Linked DNA regions of Homo sapiens: all the other regions are linked to region 1. Evidence: promoter capture Hi-C in human tissues and cell types (Jung and others, 2019). All regions are on one chromosome and are shown on one strand. The core of a region is centred on a gene start or on the middle of the fragment in contact, and the rest is flanking DNA. Distances in the headings are between cores, read along the strand shown. Region 1 holds the start of SH3PXD2B (SH3 and PX domains 2B). Region 2 holds the start of BNIP1 (BCL2 interacting protein 1). Region 3 has its middle 7.2 kb from the start of ATP6V0E1.

Region 1 (3,550 bases), core at 326-2,825:
CACCGCCTGGCTAAGGGCTGAATAACTGGCTGCCCAGCCAATAACAATACAGACTCACACAGCACACCCTTTCTTGTGGAGAGCGCGGAGTGGGTTCCCGGCTATCTCCTTTCAGAATTTCACAGGCTATTCACGGAAGGCATGCAGATCTACTTTGTAAGAATTAGTTCTTAAAAAAAAAAGATCTGAAGACGACTTCCAGGGAGGCCAAGGAGCTTAATTTAGCCAGCCAACGCCCTTTTCTATTCATTGTTCTATACTTCTTTGTTAGGATTTTTTCCCTCCCTCTTACTCTTTTTCCCTTCCTGGTTAACTTCTCTGCAGCCAGGCTCCGCCACTGCCCACTTCTCACCGCCAGAGACACTATAGCCCCCTTCCCTGCTGTAATGAGGCCCTCCCCAAGGCCTCATGTGGGCCCATCACCCCACATCCCCTTTATCTCCACCTAGAACCTGCGAGGTGGTCCCAGGGCCTCCTGAATCTGCAGACGTGTCCCCTAGGTTGCTGCGGAAGCCACTTTCCACCTGCAGGTCACCGTCAGCCCCAGGCACCCCTGCTGGAGGGAGGGAAGCCCGAATGCAGCTCTATGTTCCAGGACCTGCAACCTCTGAGCCTCAGCCTTCCTATCTGCAAAACGACGCTACTGTCCCATTTTCTCAAGTCCTTGCCAGCTCCAAACAAGATTCCCATGTTCCAGAGGGAGATGCCAGGAGAAAACTTTCGTACATTTTAAAACAGAAGTTACTGGAGAGAGGGGGCAGGGGATGTTTTTAACCCTTTAAAGGCGTAGCCACTCAAATGATCCATTCCCAGAGATCTCCTCCATCGCCCAGGCCGGCTCTTGCCAAAGAACGGAGTCAAATTCGGCGAACCCTAGAGGGGCTACCTGTGGCTGGGGACTGCGGGTCTGCGCGCCTCTGGACAAGGAGGGGCAAGGCGGGCGGCCTGAGAACAGGCACTTCTGTCTCTCCCGCTTTCTGTCTCAGACCCCTCACCGGCTGGAGCCAGACTTTTCCACAGATGAGCAGGACGGGAGTTGGGGGGACACGGAGAAGACAGAAAGGGGTAGAGGAGCCGCAGGGAGGCGAGTAGGGGGGCGAGGCGGGAGGAAGGGATGGAGGGGGAGAACGAGGCAAAAGCGGGGAGGGGAGGGGAGGGAGGGAGGAGGAGTCGGGAGGGACCCGGGCAGCGCCGCCGCAGAGCCGAGGGGAGAGCAGGGGAGGAGGGGACGGGAAGCGCTGGAGGCAGAAGTTTTCCAAGCCGGGGGCCCTCGGTCGCCCCCGACGGGGCGCGGGCTCAAGGGGGCGTGGGGGCCGCGCCGCACTCACATAATGCTTGTTGGGCACCCGCCGCTTCTGCACGTCTAGCACCTTCACCTCCACGATGCTGCGCCGCGGCGGCATGGCCGCTCCTCCGCCCGCAGCGGGCCGAGCGCGGGTGCGGGTGGCGCGGGGTGCAGGGAGCGCTGGGGGCGCGCCGCCGCGGGCAGGGAACCTGGAGCTGAGCGCAATCGCAGCCGGGGCCGAGCACGAGCCGCCGCCGCCACCGCCGCCGCCCTTCGCTCGGCGCGCACTCCAGCCGGGCCCAGCCGCCGCCGCCCGCCCCCGGCCCGCCCCCCGCACCGCCCCCCGCACCGCCCCCCGCACCGCCCCCCGCGCCGCCGGCCCGCCCCCCTTAAAGGGCCCGGCCCCGACCCCCGCCCACCGCGCGCGAACCCCGCCGGCCACGTCCGGCCCCCGCCCGGCCTTTGTCCCGGTGCTGAGCCGCCGCGCCGGGGGAGGGGACTGGACTGACCCCGTCGCCCGTTCACTGATTGACGTATCGATTCATTCCAGCACTCTCGCTCCGGCAGCCGCCATCCACCGCCAGTTTGGAGAGCCGGACACCCGGGTTCGAATCCCGGCTTTGCCGCTTTTCCACTCTGTGCCCTCGGCAAGTTGCTTAACCTCTCTGGGTTGGGTCTCTTCGTCTATAATATGAGCCTAGTAGTACAAGCACCATGTTTGTCTTTTTGTGTCTGGCTTATTTCACTCGGCATAATGTCCTCAAGGCTCATCCATGTTGTAGCACGTGTCAGTAGTACCGCCTGCCTGCCGGTGCTGCGCCCGGGATTAAGTGCATGTGAAGCCATTCCGCAGTGCAGTCCATGGTATGAGTGCTGGCGTTCCTAAAGCCACCCCAAGCCCTGGTGATTCAGGAGGAGCAAGAGACCCGTGACCAGGTTCCCCCAGCCTCAGTCTGGGACATGGGGAGTGAGGGAGAGAAAAACTGCAACAAATGCGCATACGTGCAATGTAATTGCCATGGAAGCAACAAAAGGGGATAAAAGGGTGGTGACTATGTGTGAGGGGCAGCTGGGTGCTTGTTAGCAAGGCCATCGATTTCCAGTTGCGGAGCACTTAACTGCTCGCTGGGCCCCGTGGCCCCTGCTTTTCACAAATGCTGTCTTTGCATCCTCAGGCAGACTCTAGGAGGAAAAGGTGTTTTTACAGAGGACGGCCTCCAGACATTTGGACATTTCCAATGAGGCCTGAGGACCCTCTGACTTGGGAACTGTACTTCAGAAGAATGTGCCTTACAGGAATTACATCAGTGAAGGTCCAGAGTCAGGGAGCCGGTGGATGGAGCCCGTCACTGCCTGGCTCTAGGTGGATCTCACACGTTGAAGCTGCCGTGGCTGGGGCAGCTCCTCGTTTCTTCATCTAGTGCCTCCTAGCACTGGCTGGGCACTGAGTCACTTTCAGGAGATGTTGGCTGAATGAATGGATAAATGAATATATAATGCATGGATGGGAGGTTTAGGCTCCTGGCCAGTGTTTTCACAGCCAGTAAGTGGGGGCTCTTTTCAACAAACCGTACGACTCTTCTCCATGCCACGACAGAGCTACTTCCCACCCCGGTCCAGGATCAGCCTTTGGAAAAGGGTGGGCTTATCCAGGGTAGGACGGCTCTCAGCCTCGGCCAGGCCACGTGGATGATTTGGGCTGATTCACTTTGGATCCGCCCCTCCATTTGCTCCTCTGACTTCCTTGCCAGACTTTACCATCCTGCTCCAGCCCCAGAGGCTGGCCTGTGTGGATTTCACTGACAGCTCTCTGTCCTGGTCTTCCTGTTTGGCTTGGCCAGTGGAAGGGCCTGGCAGGAGATTGAGGGCAAGAGGAGAGAGGGAGGTCTGGGTATTTAATCCCTAAGCCCCTCCTCCCCGATTGTTTTTACCAAAGGTGCCCTTTCTCACATGGTCTCTCTCAGGGTTCCTGAAGCCACTTTTCTGCTCAGGACAGTGACAGTCTTGCTGTTGCAAGCCCTGGGTACTACGCCATCCTCGGTGCTTCCTTAGCCCCGCCCACACCCGTATACATTGACCCTTTACTAAACTGTCTTCATGGACCCAGCTTGAGGGTGGCATCTGTTCGGTGCCAGGACCCTCACTCATGTAATTCCTGTAAGGCACATTCTTCTGAAGTACAGTCCCAAGCCAGAGGGTCCTGAGGCCTCATTGGAAATGTCCAAAGAAGTGAAGGTCTGCTTTTCCGTCCCTGCCACATCGTGC
Region 2 (3,550 bases), core at 406-2,905, 690 kb after region 1:
TGGAGTCTTGCTCTGTCGCCCAGGCTGGAGTAGTACAGTGGGGCGATCTCGGCTCACTGCAAGCTCCACCTCCTGGGTTCACATCATTCTCCTGCCTCAGCCTCCCAAGTAGCGGGGACTACAGGCGTCCGCCACCACGCCCGGCTAATTTTTATATTTTTAGTAGAGACGGGGTTTCACCGTGTTAGCCAGGATGATCTCGATCTCTTGACCTCGTGATCCACCCGCCTCGGCCTCCCAAAGTGCTGGGATTACAGGCATGAGCCACCGTGCCCGGCCTAGGCTTTGCCACTTTCAAGATAGGTAATCTTGCAACAGGGTTGATTGTTTTTTGTTTTAATTTACTCTAAGCCCTACTCCTGATCTGTGATAATAGTGTAGTACAATTTCAAGGGTGGTTGTGAGGATTAAGAGAGATGAACATGGTCGGGCACAGTGGCTCACGCCTGTAATCCCAGCACTTTGGGAGGCCGAGGCGGGTGGATCACGAGGTCAGTTCGAGACCAACCTGACCAATATGGTGAACCCCGTGTCTATGAAAAATACAAAAATTAGCTGGGCATGGTGGCACGCACCTGTAATCCCAGCTACTCAGGAGGCTGAGGCAGGAGAATTGCTTGAACCTGGGAGGTAGAGTTTGCAGTGAGCCAAGATTGTGCCATTGCACTCCAGCCTGGGCAACAGAGCGAGACTCCGCCACAAAAAAAAAAAAAAAAAAAGAGAGAGAGATGAACATTCAAGTCCTAAGCCTTTAGGTCCTCACAATCTATGCTTGCTGAAGTGACCCGAACAAATGCAGATGGAGTGGGGTCGAGTGGGGGAAACGCTTTCTAGGGAGAGGGAACACCACATTCTAAGGCTACACATCCAGAAGGAGCTTGAGCAATCCAGGAAGGGCGCAGGGTGCGGTGGCTGATGGCCGGGGTGGCTGATGGCCTTGAGGACCAGCTAAGAAACTTGGATTATTTACTAACAAAAATAAAAGAGCCACCATTTGTTGAGGGTTTGCTCTGACATTTCCATCAAAACTACCTTAGCAAGGTAGATTTAATAAATCCAGTTGTATACAAAAGGGAAACACGAGAAGCCATAGAAGGGCTGCATACAGGTAGGTGACTTGATCAATTTCGTGTTTTACAAAGATCCCTTAGATCATGTGTTGGAGTGATAGGAGGTACTCTACCGACCTGCCTTGAACTCCATACTTTAAAAAATATATGACGTTTATCATTTCCTCTTTTACTCCACAATTTATACTCACTGTAGAAAATATTAAAAATATAAGAAAGTTTGAAGAAACAAAAAATTATTACTGGTACTTTCCAGAGACATCTCAATTGATACTTTTCTTCCAGTCTTTTTTTTTCTATGTAAAAAATATATAGTTATTAGAATGCCTGACAGAAGGAAGATGGAAAGAGACCACTGTGAAGCGTTCTTGATATTCCCTCTTCCCTTCCTCTCCATGTTATTAGGGCCATACCAAGAGGAGAGGCTGATTTCCCTACACGTGTCAGGGAAAGTCCCAACTCTGCGCAGTGACCCTCGCTTGCCATTTTCGCCGGTCTCTAGGGGGCGCTGCCCCGAGACTGGGTGGGGAGGGAAAGAAGGTGGTGCGAAAACGCGTTTGAACTTGGGTCCTGCCGCTGCCCGTAGCCGGCGTCCCCAACATGGCGGCTCCCCAAGACGTCCACGTCCGGATCTGTAACCAAGAGATTGTCAAATTTGACCTGGAGGTGAAGGCGCTTATTCAGGTACTGATCCCGGGACCCCTGCCGGGCTCCAGCAGCCCTAACCCAAGCTCTGCTGGTCTGTGAGCTTGGCAGTGTCACTCCCGAACTTTCCCCACTTGGTTTCCCAGACCACAGGCTCCGCCCCATGGTCGGCTACCCCCCCGGTCCCCATTTGGTTGTGTCCCGGTGACTGCTGGCCTTGATCCTTTTTCCGGGTGCCGCCGGATCTCCCATCCCCAGAGCACCCCACTGTTCTCCGCCCCTGACTCAGCTACTGCTTCGGGGCTCGGCTTTGCCCCTTCCACCTGCAGCCCTGGTCGTCGCCCCGCCCCTGACTACCTCACAACCTACCTGTCACCCTGCTTGGCCCCGCCCTCTGACGCTGCTTCAGCATCCTCTGGTAGCGTCCGGGAGGCAGCTAGCCCCGCCCCCTGCTGGCCAGCTCTCCTGGCATCCAAGGCCACCTGGCACGGGAGGCACCGGGTGAAACGAATGTAACCTGGACCGTAGTTGTGATTTTATGCTTGAGGAAATCGAGTACGGCGCCAAGGCCTAGGTTAGAAGGCATACCTGGGTCAGTGGCAAAACTGGGACCTGGACTGTGAAAGTCAACCTAGGAATAACACCTTAGAGTGTTACCCCGTTTGAACAGATAGGAAATGAAGTGTTTCGCCTTAAGCCATTTAAGGGTAGAGGTAAAATAAACGAGTGGACTTAGGCAAGAATTGGGAGTGTAGACACGGTTCCATGAGTTCAGCAAAAAGAAACCGAGTTTTAAACCTTGTTTTTGCTTGTTTGTTTTTGTTTTTTTGAGACGGAGTCTCGCTCTGTCGCCCAGGCTGGAGTGCAGTGGCGCGATCTCGACTCGCGGCAAGCTCCGCCTCCCGGGTTCCCGCCATTCTCCTGCCTCAGCCTCCTGAGTAGCTGGGACTACAGGCACCCGCCACCACGCCCGGCTAATTTTTGTGTTTTGCTTAGTAGAGACGGGGTTTCACCGTGTTAGCCAGGATGGTCTCGATCTCCTGACCTCGTGATCCGCCCGCCTCGGCCTCCCAAATTGCTGGGATTACAGGCGTGAGCCACCGCGCCCGGCCTAAACCTTGGTTTTTAAAAATAATCATTTTCAACAAAGTCACTAAACATTAGATGTAGACTCAGAGTTTGTAACAAGGTGTGGCAAAAAGTGCAGGAAAATAGGGCTCCCCAGATAAACCAGATGCAGAATAAACCAAATTAGATGCAGAATAAACAAATACGGTGCAAAGAAGTGTGATTAAATGAATAAGCCAGAGAAAAAGTGAAATTTGATGCAGATATTTAAAACTTCTTGAACTTCACTTCTCTGATGTATACATTACAAAACTTCTGGGCCAATTATAGAAAAATAAACAGGTTTCATACAAATGAAATTACATTTTCACATAATCTAAATTGCTTAGGCATTCTTCTGTACTCTTTCTAACATTTGGGTTCTTGTCATTGCTGATGAGAAAGACTGATTATAGCTGGATGTATTGCGTTCTTACCGTTTTCCAGCAGCTCTGCTAAGTGCTTTACATACATACATAATCTATGATGTTCTATGAGGTAAGTAGTGTTGTGATAAGGAAACTCAGACACAGAGAATTTAAATAACTTTCCAGGTAACTTTACACAGCTCATAAGTTGCTACAGCCAGGATTCGAATCCACCTGGTCTGTCTCCAGAGCCTGCCGTGAAAGCTGGCACCAGTAATTCTGAATGTCCAGCAACAGATTCTAAATCTGCCCTTAAACATGTCTATATAAACACTCTAACTTATCACTAATGGTTTGTAA
Region 3 (3,550 bases), core at 770-3,269, 520 kb after region 1:
GGCGGGCGCCTGTAGTCCCAGCTATTCAGGAGGCTGAGGCAGGAGAATAGCGTGAACCCGGGAAGCGGAGCTTGCAGTGAGCCGAGATCACACCACTGCACTCCAGCCTGGGTGACACAGCGAGACTCTGTCTAAAAAAAAAAAAGAGGCCAGGCGCAGTGGCTCACGCCTGTAATTCCAGCACTCTGGGAGGCCGAGGTGGGCGGATCACGAGGTCAGGAGATCGAGACCATCCTGGCTAACACGGTGAAACCCCGTCTCTACTAAAAATACAAAAAAAAATTAGCTGGGGATGGTGGTGGGTGCCTGTAGTCCCACCTACTCGGGAGGCTGAGGCAGGAGAATGGCATGAACCTGGGAGGCGGAGCTTGCAGTGAGCCAAGAGTGCACAACTGCACTCCAGCCTGGGCGACAGAGCGAGACTCCGTCTCAAAAAAAAAAAAAAAAAAAAACCAAAAAAAAAAAAAAAACACTAAATCAACCACTTTCCAATTTATTCTTGGCAAGGGTGGCTAGTTCTAGAATAGGCTTTTAAAGGTCTCATCTTATGCAGCAGATGATGTCTGAATCTTGTGAAGTTGTGTGTAATTTAGGATTCTCTGTATGCCGACTTATTTCTTGAAATGGGAGAGGCTGTCAGTCGGCGCCACATGTGGGCTGGTGGCTCTGTGGCAGTGGTGGCGGCTGGACTCCGGCACCATGAGCGGCTTCAGCACTGAGGAGCGCGCCACGCCCTTCTCCCTGAAGTACCGAGTCTTCCTCAAAAATGAGAAAGGACAATATATGTCTCCATTTCAAGATATTCCAATTTATGCAGATAAGGATGTGTTCCACGTGGTAGTTGAAGTACCACTGTGGTCTAATGCAAAAATGGAGGTTGCTACAAAGGACCCTTTAAACCCCATTAAACAAGATGTGAAAAAAAGAAAACTTCGCTATGTTGCGAATTTGTTCCCGTATAAAGGATATGTCTGGAACTATGGTGCCATCCCTCAGACTTGGGAAGACCCAGGGCACAATGATAAACATACTGGCTGTTGTGGTGACAATGACCCAATTGATGTGTGTGAAATTGGAAGCAAGGTATGTGCAAGAGGTGAAATAATTGGTGTGAAAGTTCTAGGCATATTGGCTATGATTGACGAAGGGGAAACCGACTGGAAAGTCATTGCCATTAATATGGATGATCCTGATGCAGGCAATTATACTGATATCAGTGATGTCAAACGGCTGAAACCCGGCTACTTAGAGGCTACTGTGGACTGGTTTAGAAGGTATAAGGTTCCTGATGGAAAACCAGAAAATGAGTTTGTTTTAATGCAGAATTTGAAGATAAGGACTTTGCAATTGATATTATTAAAAGCACTCATGACCATTGGAAAGCATTAGTGACTAAGAAAATGAATGGAAAAGGAATCAGCTGCATGAACAAAACTGTGTCTGAGAGCCTGTTCAAGTGTGATCCTGATGCTGCCAGAGCCATTGTGGATGCTTTACCACCACCCTGTGAATCTGCCTGCACAGTACCAACAGACGTGGATACGTGGTTCCATCACCAGAAGAACTAATGGGATTTCTCTGGAATACAAGCTGATATTGCTGCATCGTGTTCATCTGGATGTATTAGATGTAAAATAGTAGCTTTTCAAAGCTTTAAATGTGTAGAACTCATCTAAGTAAATTCTGCTGTGACCAATCCCATGTACTCAGAACATTACCCATCTAAAGCATTTTTCATATCTCAACTAAGATAACTTTCAGCACGTGCTTAAATATCAAGGCAGTTGTCATTTGGAAGTCACTTGTGAATAGATGTGCAAGGGGAGCACATATTGGATGTATATGTTACCATATGTTAGGAAATAAAATTATTTTGCTTAAAAAAAAAGAAATAGGAGAGGCAACATGGCTTAGTGGGAAGAACAGGAGCTACAAAGAGCCGTGTTCAGATCCAAGCTCTGTCACTGAAAACAGCTATGCTTTGGACAAGTTACAAATTACAAGTTACAAGCCTTTTAGGACTGGGTGCAGTGGCTCACACCTGTAATCCCAGCACTTTGGGAGGCCGAGGCAGGTGAATCACCTGATGTCAAGAGTTTGAGACCAACCTGGCCAACATGGTGAAACCCTGTCTCTACTAAAAATACAAAACTAGCCAGTTGTGGTGGCGGGCACCTGTAATCCCAGTTACTCAGGAGGCTGAGACAGGAGAATCGCTTGAACCCAGGAGGTGAAGCCTGCAGTGAGCCAAGATCGCGCCACTGCACTCCAACCTGGGTGAGACAGAGCAAGACTCTGTCTCAAAAATAAATAAATAAATAAATAAACCAAATCTAAGCCTTTTAAAATTATGTACAATAGATTTAAAAATACCTATATTCAGTGTCGTGAGCATTAAATGAGACAGATAATTCAAAGCACCTAGTCCAATGTCTGGCAGGTGGCAATCACTCCAGCAACGGTGGCAGCAGTAGTACTGGTGGCCATACACAGTGCACATTCCATATACACTACTGGGCTAAGGAGTAATAAATCCTGCTAGGGTTTTCAGCTGCCCCAGTAACTTCCAAGCTTCCAGAGTAGCTTGGAAAGGGGCTTTATGACACCATATCTTCGTGACTCTGCATGCCTGTTTTTACCTACAGGACTGAGTTTAGGAAAGAAGGGCTCCTCAGCTCGTTGCACAATAGTGTTTCAGTCAACTCTTGTTTCCTTGATGCTGCTGGGGGGCCTCTGAGGTTTTTCCTCTAGTGGTGCTTCTCAAACTTTTTGGTCTCAAGACCTGTTTACATATTTAAAAACTATGGAGGACCCAAGGGACTTACATTTATATAGGTTATAGCTATTGATATTTGTCATGTTAGAAATTAAAACTTCAAATTTTAACATATTAATTTTATTATATTATTATTATTATTATTTGAGACAAGATCTCAGTCTTCACCCAGGCTGTAGTGCAATGGTGCAATTATAGCTCACTGTAACCTTGAACTTGTGGGTTCAAGCAATCCTCCCTCTTCAGCCTCCTAAGTAGCTAGGACTACAGGAGATAACACCACATCAAAATTGTTTCTTGTAGAGATGGAGGTCTCACTATGTTGCCGAGGCTGCTCTGGAACTCCTGGCCTCAAGTGATCCTCCTGCTTTAGCCTCCCAAAGCACTGGGATTATAGGCGCGAGTCACTGCATCTGGCCAACATATTTATTTTAAATTCATACAAAAAGAGCAACAAGAAACCCATAACATGTTAACATAACATTTATATGAGAAATAGCTGTTTTTTCCAAAACTAACAAAACATGTGGTTGGAAGAGTAACATTGTGTTACATTTTGGGAGAACGCCTTGACCTCTGGTTTAATAGAAGACAAATGCATTCTCATAATACTACTGCATTCAATCTGATGTGATATGTTGTTTTAGATGAACTACAGGAAGAAAATTCAGCCTTACAGAGATTCACAGTTAGAAAAGACCTGCTGGGGTGGCCAGGCATGGTGGCTCATGCCTGTAATCCCAGCACTTTGGGAAGCCAAGGTGGGTGGATCAC

The links. Contacts are between HindIII fragments. The study calls those that stand out against the background at their distance.
Region 2: a contact is called between the fragment with the promoter of BNIP1 here and the fragment with the promoter of SH3PXD2B in region 1, in 1 of the 25 tissues and cell types used here (mesenchymal stem cells).
Region 3: a contact is called between a fragment that was not itself captured here and the fragment with the promoter of SH3PXD2B in region 1, in 1 of the 25 tissues and cell types used here (IMR-90 fibroblasts).

What each region holds. Positions count from the first base shown.
Region 1 is chr5:172,452,950-172,456,499 of GRCh38, forward strand. SH3PXD2B (SH3 and PX domains 2B) reads right to left here and starts at 1,576. Exons shown (of 13, transcript NM_001017995.3): 1 at 1,329-1,576. The coding sequence starts at 1,403. RefSeq lists an enhancer at 542-1,063. The HindIII fragment of the contact is 19,152 bases long and covers 1-3,550 here.
Region 2 is chr5:173,142,876-173,146,425 of GRCh38, forward strand. It overlaps BNIP1 (BCL2 interacting protein 1), which reads left to right and starts at 1,656. Exons shown (of 6, transcript NM_001205.3): 1 at 1,656-1,754. The coding sequence starts at 1,671. RefSeq lists enhancers at 1,849-2,377, 2,319-2,388. The HindIII fragment of the contact is 15,478 bases long and covers 1-3,550 here.
Region 3 is chr5:172,974,812-172,978,361 of GRCh38, forward strand. It overlaps the pseudogene LOC285591. Among named protein-coding and RNA genes, the nearest start is that of ATP6V0E1, 7.2 kb to the right of the region's middle. The HindIII fragment of the contact is 5,706 bases long and covers 1-3,550 here.